Regions from separate parts of the Homo sapiens genome. Here all the other regions are linked to region 1. The links are contacts of gene promoters, found by promoter capture Hi-C in blood cells and fetal thymus (Javierre and others, 2016). All regions are on one chromosome and are shown on one strand. The core of a region is centred on a gene start or on the middle of the fragment in contact, and the rest is flanking DNA. Distances in the headings are between cores, read along the strand shown. Region 1 holds the start of HES6 (hes family bHLH transcription factor 6). Region 2 overlaps LRRFIP1 (LRR binding FLII interacting protein 1). Region 3 overlaps LRRFIP1 (LRR binding FLII interacting protein 1).

Evidence for each region. The method cuts DNA at HindIII sites, captures the fragments that hold promoters and counts their contacts. A CHiCAGO score of 5 or more calls a contact.
Region 2: a fragment that was not itself captured here is called in contact with the fragment with the promoter of HES6 in region 1 in 3 of 17 cell types (fetal thymus, neutrophils and erythroblasts); the score reaches 6.3 in fetal thymus.
Region 3: a fragment that was not itself captured here is called in contact with the fragment with the promoter of HES6 in region 1 in 1 of 17 cell types (neutrophils); the score reaches 5.0 in neutrophils.

The regions. Positions count from the first base shown.
Region 1 is chr2:238,238,643-238,241,342 of GRCh38, reverse strand. It overlaps HES6 (hes family bHLH transcription factor 6), which reads left to right and starts at 1,305. Exons shown (of 4, transcript NM_018645.6): 1 at 1,305-1,518; 2 at 1,596-1,682; 3 at 1,775-1,856; 4 at 2,092-2,700. The coding sequence starts at 1,438. The coding sequence ends at 2,516. RefSeq lists enhancers at 1-405, 2,306-2,700 and a silencer at 1,063-1,582. The HindIII fragment of the contact is 3,888 bases long and covers 1-2,700 here.
Region 2 is chr2:237,695,575-237,698,282 of GRCh38, reverse strand. All of the region lies in intron 1 of LRRFIP1 (LRR binding FLII interacting protein 1), which reads right to left. Among named protein-coding and RNA genes, the nearest start is that of LRRFIP1, 69 kb to the right of the region's middle. RefSeq lists an enhancer at 990-1,199. The HindIII fragment of the contact is 2,361 bases long and covers 144-2,504 here.
Region 3 is chr2:237,661,680-237,664,379 of GRCh38, reverse strand. All of the region lies in intron 1 of LRRFIP1 (LRR binding FLII interacting protein 1), which reads right to left. Among named protein-coding and RNA genes, the nearest start is that of LRRFIP1, 35 kb to the right of the region's middle. RefSeq lists enhancers at 1-169, 1,156-1,697. The HindIII fragment of the contact is 4,313 bases long and covers 1-2,700 here.

The sequences.
Region 1 (2,700 bases), core at 56-2,555:
CTTATAGCCTGGAGGGGCTCAGAACAGACCCTGACGATCCCAGCCCGGGTGAGTAGTGGGGACTGAGGAAGGCAGGTGCTGTGCGGGGCAGGCTGGTAGTCGGCCGGCTGGGGTCCGAGAAGGCGTCTCCCGTTCCGGCTCCTCCACACAGCGTCTGGACTGACGCCGGGGCAGGAGCCGGGCAGGGGTCCCCAGGACGCTGCCCGAGGGCGCGGCCCCACCGCCCACGCACCCCGCCCGCGGCCAAGAGGAACCCAGCAGATGGGCGGCCCGCCGCGATGGGGGAGTCGCGGGCGTCTGGCCGGGACAAGCGCCCGCCGCCTGCCCGCCGGACAAAGGGTGCGAGACAAAGGCGCGGCCAACACCTGTCGCTCTTGGCGCGGCCGCCGCTTTTCTCGCTTTTCTCCGCCGAAGCGGCCGCAGCTGCCAACTGTCACGGGCATCAAGTTACAGGACCAGACGGCAGCTTCGGCGGGCCTGGGAGGCGGGGCGCGGAGGACGAGGAGGGGAGGAGGGAGGCGGGCGGGGGGCAGTGGAAGGGAGGGAGGGGGCCCCGGGGGCCAAAGGGGACTAGAGGGAGATGGGGGAGCTCAGAGGGGGGCGGGGCTGGTGACCCGCAGAGCCCAGGGGGAGAGCGGCGCGGGCGGGAGCACCCGGGACCCCGCCCCACTAGGACTCCAGTGCTGGCGGAGGGCGGCGTCGGGGGTCCGGCCCGGCGTCTGGACGAGTCCGGAAGAAACTCAGGGGCCGCCCCGCCACCGCTGCCCAATGGACCCTGCCTCCCCGGGGCTTGGCAGCCACCCCAGCCGGGACCTGAAACCCCTCTAGGTCCAGAGACCGCGGACTTGACTGTGGCTCTGCACACCAGGGACGCATCTCCTGGGGCCAGTGGCCCCAGCGCTCAACTCTGGAGGCGCCATCGGCGAAGGAGGGAAATGAATGAATTAATGGGTGAATGAATGAGTGGACGGACGGACGGACGGACGGGTGGACGCCTGCTCGCACGCGCGGCAGATCAGTGGTCCTAGAGCAGCAGACGGAGAGAAACAAGCGCGGGCAGGGCCGCAGCTACCCGGGGTCGCCGCCCCGGTGCCGCCCCCGCGGGGGTCTAGGGAAGGCCGGGCTGGGGGCCCCGCCTAGCTCAGCCAGCTGCCCGACCGCCAGAGCCGCTGGGCCGGACAAAGCGCGCTGCCCCGATTGGCTGCAGCGCGCCTCGCGGTCGGCCGCCCCGGGCCCGCGCGGCCAATCGGCGCATTGAGATGCAAATAAGCGGCTATAAAAGGGGCGGGACCGCGGCGGGCCGGAAGCCGCGAGGAGCGCGGACGGCTGGGCTGCTGCTGGGCGGCCGCGGGGCAGCGGAGGGCGCCGGCACTCCGGTCCCCGCCGCTCCCCGTCCCCGCTGCTCCTAGCCCCTGCCGCGTCCCCGGCGGAGCGGGCATGGCGCCACCCGCGGCGCCTGGCCGGGACCGTGTGGGCCGTGAGGATGAGGACGGCTGGGAGACGCGAGGGGACCGCAAGGTGCGGGCCGGGGCCATGGGCGAGCAAGCGGGCGGGAGGCCGTGCGGGGCTGGGATTCAGTGCCCCGCTCCCCGCAGGCCCGGAAGCCCCTGGTGGAGAAGAAGCGGCGCGCGCGGATCAACGAGAGCCTGCAGGAGCTGCGGCTGCTGCTGGCGGGCGCCGAGGTGCGGCGGCCGGGCAGGCGCCGTGGGGCTGCGGGGCGGGCGGGCGGGTCCGGGAGCGCGCTGCCGGCTCACCGCCCTTCCCGCCCGCGCAGGTGCAGGCCAAGCTGGAGAACGCCGAAGTGCTGGAGCTGACGGTGCGGCGGGTCCAGGGTGTGCTGCGGGGCCGGGCGCGCGGTGAGTGGCGGCGGGGCGGGCGGGGGCGCCGGCCGCGGGCGCCTGTAACCCCTGCCAGACGGAGGACTTCCCTCCCGGCGCCCCTGTCCTGTCGGCGGCGAGGGCTCCCACCGGAGCAGGGTGCGCCCCCGCGTCTCCTGGGTGAGCCGCGTCCCCGCGGGCCGGGTGGGCTGGGCCACGCAGTCGCCGCTCACCGCGCGGGACGCGGCTCTCTCCCTCCCACCCTCGGGCCCAGAGCGCGAGCAGCTGCAGGCGGAAGCGAGCGAGCGCTTCGCTGCCGGCTACATCCAGTGCATGCACGAGGTGCACACGTTCGTGTCCACGTGCCAGGCCATCGACGCTACCGTCGCTGCCGAGCTCCTGAACCATCTGCTCGAGTCCATGCCGCTGCGTGAGGGCAGCAGCTTCCAGGATCTGCTGGGGGACGCCCTGGCGGGGCCACCTAGAGCCCCTGGACGGAGTGGCTGGCCTGCGGGGGGCGCTCCGGGATCCCCAATACCCAGCCCCCCGGGTCCTGGGGACGACCTGTGCTCCGACCTGGAGGAGGCCCCTGAGGCTGAACTGAGTCAGGCTCCTGCTGAGGGGCCCGACTTGGTGCCCGCAGCCCTGGGCAGCCTGACCACAGCCCAAATTGCCCGGAGTGTCTGGAGGCCTTGGTGACCAATGCCAGCCAGAGTCCTGCGGGGGTGGGCCCGGCCCTCCCTGGATCTCCTCCCTCCTCCCAGGGGTTCAGATGTGGTGGGGTAGGGCCCTGGAAGTCTCCCAGGTCTTCCCTCCCTCCTCTGATGGATGGCTTGCAGGGCAGCCCCTGGTAACCAGCCCAGTCAGGCCCCAGCCCCGTTTC
Region 2 (2,708 bases), core at 75-2,574, 540 kb after region 1:
CGTAATCTTTAAGAGCTTCCTTCCCCTCTGAAATTCTTTGGGTTCATGCCAGAGGTGAATTATTTGTACACTGAGATTGTCCACAGACTGTGTCTGTTTTGCTACTGGAAATCTCCAGGCTTTGCTTTTCAGAATAATAAGCTTCTTTAAAGTCCTTCGCATCCTAAAATAGCAAACGTATTAATCGGGAACAAAATGATTGATGTTACTTTATTGATGACTCACACATTGACCTATTCAAACCTCACAACACAATCTTGGGCTTAGCAGCTACTCCCACTGGCGCTAAGAAATAAATACGCTATACAGTATCTTCCATGCAAGTGAACTTCTACTCTTGCTGTTAATACATTTCTTGCTTTTCCTGAGATGAATGAATCTTCATATTTCCTTCAATTGCCTCAACATGATGGAAATACAAGAACCATGACTACCACTAACAGAGACGTGCGGGACTGAGAGGCGAGGGCGGCTGGGCCTCCCCTGTGCCGTTTCCTCTCCAGGTGACAGGTTTCCCTCCAGGCAGCACGTCTGGGCTCCACTCCCTTCACCTTTGCCTGCTCTGCTCAAGACTGTCCTACAAACCCCAGACCTCTAGGGTTTCACAAAAACATTTAAATTGTTTCCTCTGAGAAGAAGGCTGAAAGCTCCACCAGCACCAGGGCAGCACACAGCAACTGACAATCTTTCCTATATTCAGTGGATATTCCCTGGAACCAGCTATAAAAGAAACAGCAGCTGTCATGTTTATCCTCCATGAACTTATCTACTTGGATGAGGTAGGGGAGGAGTTACATCATACCCAGAAAAATAAAAAGGCTTAAATCACAGCAGCTCTCAGGTGTATGCCGACATAAGCAGTAGTTAACATTTTAGCATGGTACAAAAATAGCAAAACAAGTTTCACAGCTATTTCATTTCTACCATTATTTTCCTTATGTAGAAAAGTAAAGCTCATTGGGCCGGGTGTGGTGGCTCATGCCTGTAATCCCAGCACTTTGGGAGGCCGAGATGGGAGGATCACTTGAGGTCAGGAGTTTGAGACCACCCCGGCCAATGTGGTGAAACCCCATCTCTACTAAAAATACAAAAATTAGCCGGGTGAGGTGGCAGGCACCTGTAGTCCCAGCTGCTTCAGAGGTCTGAGGCAGGAGAATCGGTTGCACCTGGGAAACGGAGGTTGCAGTGAGCTGAGATTGTGCCATTGCATTCCAGCCTGGGCAATCAAGCACGACTGTCTCAATAAAAAAAAAGAAGGAAAGTAAGTTCGTTCTTTGAATGTTCTCTTCTGTCTGGAAATTACCAGGCAGAGAACAGAAAAGTTTGACAGAGTGAAGACTTCCCAGTATGCATTCAAGACAAGGACTTCTGTCCTAAGAGGCAGCTTTGGTAAAAAGAAATCCTTCAGCCCCAATACTGGGGTATGAGACAGCAGGGCTGCCAAGAAAAGCTGACAACAGCGACAAAAGCAGCAGCAGCAGCCGTGGCAGCCACAGCTATATCTTGCACATTTACTACCTGCCAGCCCCTGCCTGCAGCATTGCATACAGTGGTGACAGTTATCAGTACCAGTTCCGAGTCAGCAGGCCTGGGTCTGAACTGGCTCCACTGCTGACTAGCTGTGAGGGCTTGGAAAGTCCCTGACCTTTCTGAGCCTCAGTTTCCTCTTTATCTGAAAAACTGAGAGAAAACGATCTGCTCCCCATGAGGTTACAGCAAGGGTTAGAGAAGACCTTCACATAAAACACCAGGTGGGCGCAGCAGGGGTTTGGTAAATATTAGCTACTTTCACTACTTAGTGTCTTCTTTGACAGCTACTGACCTAAGAGTATAAATCCGGTTCAGAGAAGTTTAGAAGCACGATGAGAAGACAAGCATGCTAAGGCACCCACCTAGCAGAGAAGCAGGAAAAACTGGGGAAACTTCAGAGGAGGGGGACAGAGGTTCTCAACCCACAGGGAAAGCCCACTCCTTTCCCTAGGAAAATCACACAGCCACGTGCCACATACAGTAAAAAAGACAGAAGGATCACAGGTGGCGTTGCTTTGATCATCTTCATTACACAAATAAATGAAACATTTTGGTTAAAATTAAGAGTAAATCTTCATTATAGTGATTTAAGATAAATTACTTCTCTACTACAAAGTAGTTATACTTTAGATTCAAGGGAAAACTACTTACCTAGTTTTAAAGTTGTAAAGTTACAATCCCAAGGAGAAACCACTGGAAACACTGGCCCTTTCCAAAATGAATGAATGAGTCTCGGAATACATATAATTTCTGTTGCCAGGTGTGTGTGTGTTTTGGTTTATTGTTTTGGAATCTGGCCTGGGGCAGGGGGATTATACTACTGGTCTATAATCAAATACATGGCAATTTTGAATGATTAAATCTTGCATGTAGTCAAAATATTTAATTTGGGAGAAAGAAACGAATTTACTTAATTTTATCTAGGTAGTCTGAATAATAAAAGTTCTAGTAAGTCCATTCCATGAAAACAAGCTTCTTTATTTAAAAAAAAAAAACAAAAAACAAATTTGGGCGGCCTCCAGTAATAACAGTGAGGTAATAAAAATCCTCTTCTCCTGTCCCATGTCTAACACGTAGTGAGATGTAATGGACTTACTGATTGGTGAAGAGGTTGGTAATCTAAACATTATGGCCTCTGGGGCTTCAAGATCACTCCTTTAAATACGAGCAGATATTCT
Region 3 (2,700 bases), core at 191-2,690, 580 kb after region 1:
GGTACAATCCAGAACTGAATACCAGCAACCAGCACACTGTGGACAGGCCAGGCGGCAGGCGCACCTGCGGATGGAAACGCAGTGGAGAACGCCGCCGGCCTCTTTGCCAAGAACTCAATCTCCCTGGCTTGGGCCCCCTCCTCTCCACTGCCAGTCCCACTGCGGCCCCAGCCAGGACTAAGCCTCTGTGGTCCTTCTCCCCATGACTTCACTAAAACGGCTCTGGCTGAGGCCGCCAGGACCCTCCCTTTTGCAAGGTGCAAGTGACATTCTTCCCCGGGTCTCCCTTGGGTCTCTCTGCAGCATGGACATGGCTGTTTCCCCTCTGCCCCCACCCTTCACCCTGCTCCTCCCTCCCAGTGCCCTGAGGGCGACCCTTCCTCTGCTCACCCCTTCCTTGTTTCTGAGGTTCCCGGGGCTCCACCCTGGGTACTCTGCTCCACTGACCTACTTAGGAGACCTCATGCAACTATGTGGCTTTGACCACCCTGACCGCTGACGGCTCCCCTCTCCCCTATGGCCCAGGCGAATGCACGTGAACCTTTGCCAGACCTTTCCCTGTGGGTAGTGCTCAGCTGCCTCAAGGCAACATTCCCAGAACAGAACTGAACTCTTCCCCGGGTCCCCGCTCCACCAACCCAGTCAGTTCCACAGTGTCTGTGAGTGATAACGCAACATCACACCATCCTCCCCAAGCACCCTGTCAGAGGCCCGGAAGTCATTCCATGTGCCTCGTCCATTAAGGCTGAGCTGTTTAGGCTGCTGTAGCAGAAGGGCATAGACTAGGTGGCTTATAAACAACAGAAATTAACTTCCCCCAGTTCCAGAGGCTGTGAAGCCCAAGATCAAGGTGCCAGCAGATTCAGTGTCTGGGGAGGGCCCCCTTTCTTGTTCATAGAAGGGGTGAGGGCCCCCTTCCCATTGTGTCCTCACATGGCGGGATGGGGGGGGAAAGAACTCCCCGGGTTTGTTTTATAAGGGCACTAATCTCATTTACTCTCATGCCCTAATCACCTCCTAAAAGCTCCCACCTCCTAATACAGTCAGCTTGGTGGTTAGGATTTCTATACATGAATTTAGGGGAGACACAAACGTTCAGACTACAGCACCTTCTTTCACTCCGCATCTCACAGAATGCTCACAATCTTACTCATTTCTTTTAAACTAAAAATTCTAATAGTTTAGTTAAACTGATGCAGGGCAGGCGAGCCCTAAAGTGGAGCTTAGCCCATCTGGGTTCTTGGCCTTGCTCAGGAAAGAATTCAAGGGCAAGTCATAGGTAGAAGAAAACAGCTTTACTGAAGTGTCAGTGTTCCAGCTCCCTGCCGGCTCCCGCAGGGCAGGGCTACCCCGCAGGCAGAGAGCAGCACCTCAGGGCAGTTTTGCAGTCCTGTTTATACTCACTTGTAATTGCATGCAGATTAAGGAGCGGTTTATGCAAGGAAGAGGTAGTAATCACTGGGTCATTGCCGTGGAAAGGAGCGGTAATGCCTGGGTGCCGTCATGGCAACGGTAAATTGACATAGCGCTGGTGGGCGTGTCTGATTGAAGACTGCTTTCCCCACCGGGCCTGTTTTAGCTAGTCCTCAATCTGGCCCAGTGTCCAAGCCCCGCCTCTGGAGTCAAGTCCCGCCTCCTACCTCAGAAGCAGTTCCAGTTTTTAATGTTAACCAACACAGGGAAAGTGAGGTTTCACTATAAATAGCCACACCGAGAATGGGAACATAAAACTGTCCCAGTTATAGGGATTATTAATGGATTTCGCTGCGGAACAAACAAGGATTTCAGGTCAGTTTATGACATATTGTTATATATCTTCAAATCCTAAGAGAAAGAAAAAAAATACATTCAGACATTGGACCTGAAAAAAAAATTGTCCTTATCTTTTCTAAGGGGTTAAGAGCACATGGCACACACCACACCTTAGCACCCTGAAGAATAAAATCATATACGTGATGGTGAGAATGTAAGAACCCTGCACTGCGTTCAGTAACATCCCCCAAAAGTTCATGTCCACCCAGAACCCGTGGATGGGGCCTTATTTGGACATAGGCTTTTTGCGTGTACAATCAAGTTAAGATGAGGTCGTACTAGATTAGGGTGGGCCCTCATTCAATGACTTTCTTATAAGGAAACAGAAATTTGCACACAGAGACACAAATACCCAGGGAGGGGGCCACGTGGAGACGGAGGCAGAGCCTGGTGTGATGTGTCTACAAGCCAGAGGGCCGAGGGCTGCCAGCAGCACCAGAAGCTGGAGAGACGCCTGGAACACCTTCCCCTCAGAGCCTCCAGAAGGAACCCACCTGGCCCAATACCTCGACTTTGGACTTCCGGTCTCCGGAACTGTGAGAGAATACAGTTCTGTTATTTTAAGTCACCCAGTTTGTGGCACTTTGTTATGGCATCCCTACAGACCAACACCTGCATGCTGTCATGGGTCACGCTAGGTGCACGAGGACTCAGTCTTCAGCCAGATTTTACATTTTGTCCAAAGGAATCATGGCAACACCTATTTTGGGGGCTGATAGGTACCTGGGTCAGGAGAGCCTATGCCACTCAGCTGGGCCACAGAACTACAGCGGATTGACTCAGGAAACAGGAAAACAGTGCCCTCTCTCTTCCTGGAGCTGTCCCCATGCACAGCACAGAGAATGTGTGCCCACTCCCGTGTTGCACCAGGGACACAACTGTCCCCCT